3 separate regions of the Homo sapiens genome follow, and all the other regions are linked to region 1. The links are contacts of gene promoters, found by promoter capture Hi-C in blood cells and fetal thymus (Javierre and others, 2016). All regions are on one chromosome and are shown on one strand. The core of a region is centred on a gene start or on the middle of the fragment in contact, and the rest is flanking DNA. Distances in the headings are between cores, read along the strand shown.

What was found. The method cuts DNA at HindIII sites, captures the fragments that hold promoters and counts their contacts. A CHiCAGO score of 5 or more calls a contact.
Region 2: the fragment with the promoter of RABGAP1 here is called in contact with the fragment with the promoter of NDUFA8 in region 1 in 3 of 17 cell types (total CD4 T cells, naive CD4 T cells and non-activated CD4 T cells); the score reaches 10.5 in total CD4 T cells.
Region 3: a contact is called between a fragment that was not itself captured here and the fragment with the promoter of NDUFA8 in region 1, in 1 of 17 cell types (naive CD8 T cells). The highest score is 5.9, in naive CD8 T cells.

What each region holds. Positions count from the first base shown.
Region 1 is chr9:122,158,329-122,161,109 of GRCh38, forward strand. It overlaps NDUFA8 (NADH:ubiquinone oxidoreductase subunit A8), which reads right to left and starts at 1,451. Exons shown (of 4, transcript NM_014222.3): 1 at 1,299-1,451. The coding sequence starts at 1,349. MORN5 (MORN repeat containing 5) reads left to right here and starts at 1,580. Exons shown (of 5, transcript NM_198469.4): 1 at 1,580-1,691. The coding sequence starts at 1,645. RefSeq lists an enhancer at 1,362-1,656. The HindIII fragment of the contact is 8,418 bases long and covers 1-2,781 here.
Region 2 is chr9:122,939,594-122,942,374 of GRCh38, forward strand. RABGAP1 (RAB GTPase activating protein 1) reads left to right here and starts at 1,427. Exons shown (of 26, transcript NM_012197.4): 1 at 1,427-1,500. It overlaps LOC105379839 (a long non-coding RNA gene), which reads right to left and starts at 1,655. Exons shown (of 2, transcript XR_001746924.3): 1 at 1,546-1,655; 2 at 983-1,342. RefSeq lists enhancers at 967-1,036, 1,226-1,950 and silencers at 1,197-1,356, 1,367-1,696. The HindIII fragment of the contact is 5,356 bases long and covers 1-2,664 here.
Region 3 is chr9:122,851,289-122,854,069 of GRCh38, forward strand. RC3H2 (ring finger and CCCH-type domains 2) reads right to left here. Exons shown (of 21, transcript NM_001100588.3): 18 at 2,664-2,781; 19 at 35-148. Among named protein-coding and RNA genes, the nearest start is that of PDCL, 24 kb to the left of the region's middle. RefSeq lists an enhancer at 74-849. The HindIII fragment of the contact is 6,549 bases long and covers 1-2,781 here.

The DNA.
Region 1 (2,781 bases), core at 201-2,700:
CAAGTCCAAACTGTTTGGTCTGGCCTTGTAGAAGCTGCTTCCAAGTCCTATCTCAGCCCAAGTTGCCTCTCCAGGCTCAGCACCTGCTGCTTCCCACCACCACCACTAGGGTCACATCAAACTGTACTTGGCTCCCTAAACACACAAGTTCTGCTAGGCCGTCTCATTCTTGTGAGTTTTCACCCATAATATAGTGGAAAAGCATTGGTTTTAAAATCAGACTTGGGTTCACTTCCAGCTCTATTACTTACGAGCTCCGTGACCTTGGGCAAATCATTTCTACTCTCGGGGACTAATTCCTTATTTATAACGCTACGACCAATTGTGTGTGTGTGTGTATATATATATATATGACCAATTGTGTGTGTGTATATATATATGGTATATACATATATATATATACACCAATTGTGTATATATATATATGGTATATATATATACACACCAATTGTGTGTGTGTATATATATGTGTATGTGTGTGTATATATATATATATCCTACCTTATAGTGTTGCTGGGAGGATTCAATGAATTAATGCATGGAAAGTAATTAGCATCCTGCCTGGTATCTAGAAAGGACTTGATCATGTTAGCTATAATTAGTAGGGTATGTTTCTACTTCACTCCTCACAGCACTAACTACATTGTACTGTGACTGCCTCTTTATGTGTCTGTCTCCCTACTGGATTGTAAAGTCCATGAAAGCACGAAGTATATCTCTTCCAGCGTTATGTGTACACGTTAATTACTGAAATGATATCTCTTGAATAAACGAATGCTTTAAATGGGTCCTGTTACCAAACACCTTCCCAAGGCTGTGAGTAGATGCACGCTCCAATATTGTCTCATTTTCCCGCGGCTTCGTCACCCCACTCTATGCACTCTGCACCGGTGATACCACTTTAAGGTAGATGACCGTCTCCCTCGACTGTGAGCCCCTAGGGTTGTATACTCACCTCGCATGCAAGTTTGAGGATTAAGCGACATAAGCTAAGTAAAATGACTGGTTGGTGCTTAATAAAATGTATCACTATTATTCACGGAAGGAGAAATAGGTCGCTGTGGAGGGCGAAAGGGGGAGGATTCTAGAGCCACTGCAAGATGCGACAGGGTGGGGTAGAGAGGGGAGGCGACTCCCAAAGCTGCGGAGGGGACCTCCGGGGGTCGACCTGTATATGCGTTGGAGGACTGGGGAGGGGGGCCCGGGTCCCAGGATCCGCGGAGCCCAAGGGGGGCTAGGCCCAGGCCCGAGAAGCCGCAGCCCCATGTCTCCCTTGCCTGTCCTCCGGATAGCCTCACCTCATCTACTTTCAGCTCCTCTAGAGTGGGCAGCTCCACTATCCCCGGCATGACGGCTGCAGCCCCGACCCCGACGAGAAGCCCTCAGCCGCGTCGCCCCCGTCTCCTTGAACTCCCCTTTCGACCGCCGAGTGCCACACGGCGCCTGCGCATGCGCATCCGGCAACACGCAGGCGTATTGCCCTGCCCAACCACGAGCGAGGGAGCGTGCGCAATACCAAGAACTTTTCAGCCTCCAGCGGGGTGGGGCTTCGATTCGGCTCCGCCCACCCCTCCAGGTTGTCATAGTGATGCCGTATCCACTGAGACTCCGGATCCTAACAGCTGGAAGCTAAAAACAGGCGCCATGGAGTACACAGGGAGCAAATATATCGGGGAATATGTAGATGGGAGGTAAGGGGCTCATTTGATTCACTTACTATACCTTGAATAGCTGTGACTGGAAAAAGACGGCTTTTTGCTTCTGCGAAACACCTTGTGCCAGGCACTTTCACAAACTTGCCCGAGTAATTTTTTCAAGGACCATATCTAATAAGCAGCAAAGCTAAGATGCATTCATTCCATATATACTTATATGTGTGTGTGCATTGACTGTGTGTGTGTGCTATCTGCCAGTTTTAAACATAGGAATAAGAATATTTAAAATGTCAAGATCCTTGCTCTTATGGAGTTTATAATCCAGTTGGAGATGTATTGCCAATAAACAAATAAGTGATAAAATAATTACAGATAATGGTAAATGCTATAAAAACAAACACGAAGATTAGGGAAGAGAGACTGGCTAATCTGAATCTACACGGTCGCTTCCTTCCAGGAGGAGTTCACGATCTAGGGATTATTATAGAGGATTATATACACAAATCACTGTAGTGGACTAGTAGTAAAAAACAATTCAACAGTTTTTTTTTCTTTTCTTTTCCTTCCTTCCTTCCTTCCTTTTTTCCTTCCTTCCTTCCTTCCTACCTTCCTCTCTTTCTTTCTTTCTCTCTCGTTTTTGTTTTATTTTCAGACAAGATCTCGCTCTGTTGCCCTGGCTGGAGTGCAGTGGCCTGTTCACTGCTTACTGCAGCCTCAACCCCCTAGGCTCAAACAATCTTCCCACCTCAGCCTCCCAAGTAGCTGAGACTACCGGTGTGCACCACTACCCCCAGCAAATTTTTCAACGCCTTTTGTAGAGACGGCATCTTGCTATGTTGTCCAAGCTGGTCTCATACTCCTGGGCTCAAGTGATCCTCTTGCATGAGCCACCGTGCCCAGCAATTCAACAATGTTGAGTGGCTACCGAGTACCAGGCCCTGTAATTGACTCTGGGCACAATCCCTGTCTTCAGAAAGTTCATTCAAACATGATGCGACAAGTAGACATAACAGATAACTGCGATTCAGTGTGGTAAGAGCTGTAGTAGAGAGAAGCAGAGGAAACACAGAGGTGGCCACTCTTTTTTGCCAACCACCCTGGATGAAGAAAGTGGAATCTCTGTTTT
Region 2 (2,781 bases), core at 177-2,676, 780 kb after region 1:
ATGTTAAGATTTACATAAATATTTGGGGTGTCCATGAATCAAGAAATACATGAAAGTATGGGCACCAAAACGTTAAAAGTGGTTTTGTTGGGAGTTCAGGGGATTTTACTTTCTCCCTAATACTTTATTCTTTGAATATCTTGAAATGGATATTTTGTAACTGTATAAGGAGAAAGGAAGCGAAACTATTTTTCTGCAGGGGTACACCCACATCTATTGTATTAGACAAATCACAGAGGGATTGCAACAGAACACAGATTTTTCTCACTGTTTTTTCTCTGGTTGATCGGGATGCATTATCCACCAGAAAACACTGTAGACGACTCACTCACCAGGAAAAGAGCATATGCCAGTTGGAATAAATAAAGGGGAAGAGTAAGGAAGAGGCTGTAGAATTATTTTATAAATTATCAAGTCTTATGAGCCAGGTGCAGTGGTGCATGCCTATGTACAGTCCCAGCTACTCAGGAGGCTGAGGTGGTAGGATAGCTTGAGCCCAGGAGTTCGAGGGTGGAGTGTGATATGATCGTCTGTGAATAGCCACAGCACTGCATCCTGGACAAGATAGGGTCTCTTTAAAAATAAGACTTAACTAGCACTTTAATAATCATTGTTTTTGTTCCCAACTGCATTGTACATTCATTGAGGACAGGGACTTTAAACTTCATTATATTGCTGTTGCTGTGTTTCACCTTTGAATGATTTTTAAATAAAAATCTCATCTTTGAGTCACAATCTGATGTAACCTTGTCCATTTCTGTCCTCTTGTGTGCCTTAAATGCCTTTAGGCAGCTGTGTTGTACCAGTGGTTTTAGGACTTGGCAGTCGGAAGTTTTGACTTCTAGACTGGATTCTGTAACTAAAGCTAAATTACTTTATAAAAGGAGAAAAATGGTACCATTCTGACGGGTTTGTGGTGAAGCTGAAATGAGATAGCCACATAAAGAACCATCACAATCCCTGACACACCGTGCGCCCTCAGTAAATGCCAGGTGAATTTTATTACACTGTGAAGTACTGATTTTCAAACAGGACTTGCACATGAAAGGTGAGCAGGGGGATTCCTTGCTCAAGCACCAGTACTCTGGGGTTGTACCCTTTGTTAGGCTCAACAGGTACTACCCAGTCCGCTTCCATCGTCCCCAGTCCCGGCTGCAGTCACGTAGTTGGCTGTCCAACTCCAAATACACAAGACAGCCCAGGTCCAGCTCACAGCCAGTGCACTTCGCGCAGGCGCACAGTCCTGAGGCGGGCTGAAAGCCCAGGTGGGGCTCGGAGAAGAGGAAGCTCCGCCTCGCTTCCCGGTATTGGGCCAATAGGGTCGCTCGTCATGGTCGCAGACCTATGAGACGGGGCAGGGGGCGGGGCGGAGGGCGGAAGAAGTCGCTCTCACGTGAGTAAAGGGGTGGGGGGGCGGGGACAGGGCGGTTTGGGAGGCCCAGGCGGCGGAGCCTCCGGGACGGCGAGCGGCGGGCGGCGGAGGAGGAGACGGCAGGTCGGGTAGGGCCGTGTTTCCCCTCCTCCTCCTCCCACCCTCCTACCTACCAACCCCAGGGGTATTTTCCGACGGCCCCTGCGGGGAGCCAAGCTGTCTTCTCATCCCGCGGGGTCGGGCCAGTGGAGCTGCTCTCAGCTCCCTCGACGGGCCGAGTTCTGAGGGGAGCCGTGATTGGGGGGAGGGGGAACTGCGACGGAGGGGAGAGGGCGCATGCGCAGGCTGGGCCGCTCTGGGAGCCCCTGCCCAAACCGGTTCCCCCTGTCTGTGTGGGTGCCGGTCTTCTGAGTCTTGCGTTTTTGGCCCTCCCTCTGGTCCCCCAGCAAAGCCGGTTTGTGTCTTGACTTTAATGTTTTATGCTTGGTCCTATTTGGGAATCCAGCCGCTCCCCCCCGCCTCAGTTTCTCCCCATTGCTCACTAGGCCTGTATCTGTGACTTAAGCTAGCCTGGGCCTCAGGCTGTCCTGGGCTGCGCCTAAATTTCAAAGACTTGCTAGTTTTCACTGTCGCTTTGCCATCTCAGGTTGGTCTTTCAGTCTCATTTCCCCGTCTGCAATTAAAGCGTTCTTGGCATCCCAGTCTTCTCATCTCCTTGAAGCAGCTACCCCAGTACCTCATCGCTGTGTCTTTTGATTATCCGCACCCTTAGGGTTTTACGTGTTGAGCCAAAGGATAACCTCAAGACTTCCAGGAGTTCGCTGTCCATTGCCTGGTAGTACTTTGGTCTCTGCTCTTCTGCATCCAGACTGTTTATCATCTGCTCCTGCGTTTCACGCATCTGCATACCTTTGGTTACTCGAGAATTCTTTTTTGGAAACAAATGTCCTAGGAGACCGTGTTAAGTGATCATGCTGCTAGTGTTCCCGCTACTAGTGCTCCGTTAGTTTTAAATCATGTTCCAACTTGAATTTGAGGTCTTTTGACTTTCGTTGGCTTTTTGTCAGGGAAAAAAACCTGTTAGGGACAGGGTTTCACAATTCCTTTTATATTTCCATTCACATGTATTTACAAACGTGTGCCTGGAGTAGTAAGTACACAATAAGTGAGTTTCCAGCTGTTTTTGTTTCGGAAACAAAAAACAAAACAAAACAAAACAAAAAAACAACGGAAGGTGAATGGAATTGTGTTTGTAACATTAAACTGATGTTTGAAAAGTAGTTGGGAAAAAAAGCTTAGGTACTAAGGAGGGTTCATCCAACTTTTTTTTAAACGAAGGACGTGTTGCCTTAGTTCAAGTTTGTATAAGGTGCTATTTAATATGTATTGAAGACTTAACTAGAGCTTAC
Region 3 (2,781 bases), core at 103-2,602, 690 kb after region 1:
CAAAGCCTCTCAATTATCTAATTGTGGCACTTACTTCAATTGGTTCACTTTGTCCATCAGGTTCATCAGTATCAAGTGCTGAAAGCTCTAACTCGATATCCCTATCAGGTTTAGTATCTGTTGCATCTTCTGTATAATCACTCTGTAACTAAGAAAAATACTGATTTTGCTCTCCCTCTCCCTCTCCCTCTCCCCATGGTCTCCCTCTCCCCATGGTCTCCCTCTCCCTCTCTTTCCATGGTCTCCCTCTCATGCCGAGCCGAAGCTGGACTATACTGCTGCCATCTCGGCTCACTGCAACCTCCCTGCCTGATTCTCCTGCCTCAGCCTGCAGAGTGCCTGCAATTGCAGGCGCGCGCCGCCACGCCTGACTGGTTTTCGTATTTTTTTGGTGGAGACGGGGTTTCGCTGTGATGGCCGGGCTGGTCTCCAGCTCCTAACCACGAGTGATCTGCCAGCCTCGGCCTCCCGAGGTGCCGGGATTGCAGACGGAGTCTGGTTCACTCAGTGCTCAATGGCGCCCAGGCTGGAGTGCAGTGGCGTGATCTCGGCTCGCTACAACCTCCACCTCCCAGCCGCCTGCCTTGGCCTCCCAAAAAGCCGAGATTGCAGCCTCTGCCCGGCCGCCACCCCGTCTGGGAAGTGAGGAGCGTCTCTGCCTGGCCGCCCATCGTCTGGGATGTGAGGAGCCCCTCTGCCTGGCTGCCCAGTCTGGAAAGTGAGGACCGTCTCTGCCCGGCCGCCATCCCATCTGGGAAGTGAGGAGCGCCTCTTCCCGGCCGCCATCACATCTAGGAAGTGAGGAGCGTCTCTGCCCGGCCGCCCGTCGTCTGGGATGTGGGGAGCGCCTCTGCCCCGCCGCCCTGTCTGGGATGTGAGGAATGCCTCTGCCCGGCCGCCACCCCGTCTGGGAGGTGAGGAGCGTCTCTGCCCGGCCGCCCCGTCTGAGAAGTGAGGAGACCCTCCGCCCGGCAGCCGCCCCGTATGAGAAGTGAGGAGCCTCTCCGCCCGGCAGCCGCCCCGTCTGAGAAGTGAGGAGCCTCTCTGCCTGGCAGCCACCCCGTCTGGGAAGTGAGGAGCGTCTCCGCCCGGCAGCCGCCCCGTCCGGGAGGGAGGTGGGGGGGTCAGCCCCCCGCCTGGCCAGCCGCCCCGTCCGGGAGGTGAGGGGCGCCTCTGCCCGGCCGCCCCTACTGGGAAGTGAGGAGCCCCTCTGCCTAGCCAGCCGCCCCGTCCGGGAGGGAGGTGGGGGGGTCAGCCCCCCGCCCGGCCAGCCGCCCCGTCCGGGAGGGAGGTGTGGGGGTCAGCCCCCGGCCCGGCCAGCCGCCCTGACCGGGAGGGAGGTGGAGGGGTCAGCTCCCAACCCGGCCAGCCGCCCTGTCCGGGAGGTGAGGGGCGCCTCTGCCCTGCCGCCCCTACTGGGAAGTGAGGAGCCCCTCTGCCCGGCCAGCCGCCCCGTCCGGGAGGGAGGTGGGGGGGTCAGCCCCCCGCCTGGCCAGCCGCCCCATCCGGGAGGTGAGGGGCGCCTCTGCCCGGCCGCCCCTACTGGGAAGTGAGGAGCCCCTCTGCCCAGCCACCACCCCGTCTGGGAGGTGTGCCCAACAGCTCATTGAGAACGGGCCATGATGACAATGGCGGTTTTGTGGAATAGAAAGGGGGGAAAGGTGGGGAAAAGATTGAGAAATCGGATGGTAGCCGTGTCTGTGTAGAAAGAAGTAGACATGGGAGACTTTTCATTTTGTTCTGTACTAAGAAAAATTCTTCTGCCTTGGGATCCTGTTGATCTGTGACCTTACCTCCAACCCTGTGCTCTCTGAAACATGTGCTGTGTCCACTCAGAGTTAAATGGCTTAAGGGCGGTGCAAGATGTGCTTTGTTAAACAGATGCTTGAAGGCAGCATGCTCATTAAGAGTCATCACCACTCCCTAATCTCAAGTACCCAGGGACACAAACGCTGCGGAAGGCCGCAGGGTCCTCTGCCTAGGAAAACCAGAGACCTTTGTTCACTTGTTTATCTGCTGACCTTCCCTCCACTATTGTCCTATGACCCTGCCAAATCCCCCTCTGTGAGAAACACCCAAGAATGATCAATAAAAAAAAAAAAAAAAAAAGAAAAATACTGATTTTATACCTGTGGAACCTGGGGTTTCCCTTTTAAATTAAAGTAAAAAATCCCAATGATCAGCCAGGCACGGGGGCTCACACCTGTAATCCTAGCACTTTGGGAAGGTGAGGCGAGCAGATCACTTGAGGTCAGGAGTTCAAGACCAGCTTAGCCAACATGGTGAAACCCTGTCTCTACTAAAAACACAAAAATTAGCTGGGCATGGTGGTGGGTGCCTGTAATCCCAGCTACTCGGGAAGCTGAGGCAGGAGAATCGCTTGAACCTGAGAGCCAGAGGCTGCAGTGAGCCAAGATCGTGCCATTGCACTCCAGGCGATAGAGCAAGATTCCATCTCAAAAAAACAAAAATCCCGATGATCTAGTTAAAGAATTATTTAAGAAATCTGGGATTACAATTTTATTTCTGTTATAAGTTTTAAAAGCAATCAATCATCCATCAGAGATAGGCACACCAAAATGCACTCAGTAATGGTATAACCAAGATGCAGCAGCAGAAAACAAATACATTAAGCATGAAGCCGAAAGGTTCAGTTTCTTTACCTCTCCATTTCTTAGTTCAATTTCCTTGCTTAAAAGGTTTAAGGTAAGGTGACGGCCTTCATCCAGGGAATTCCACTTCTGTTGCATGGCCAAAGCATTGGCCTCTCTCTGAAGAAGT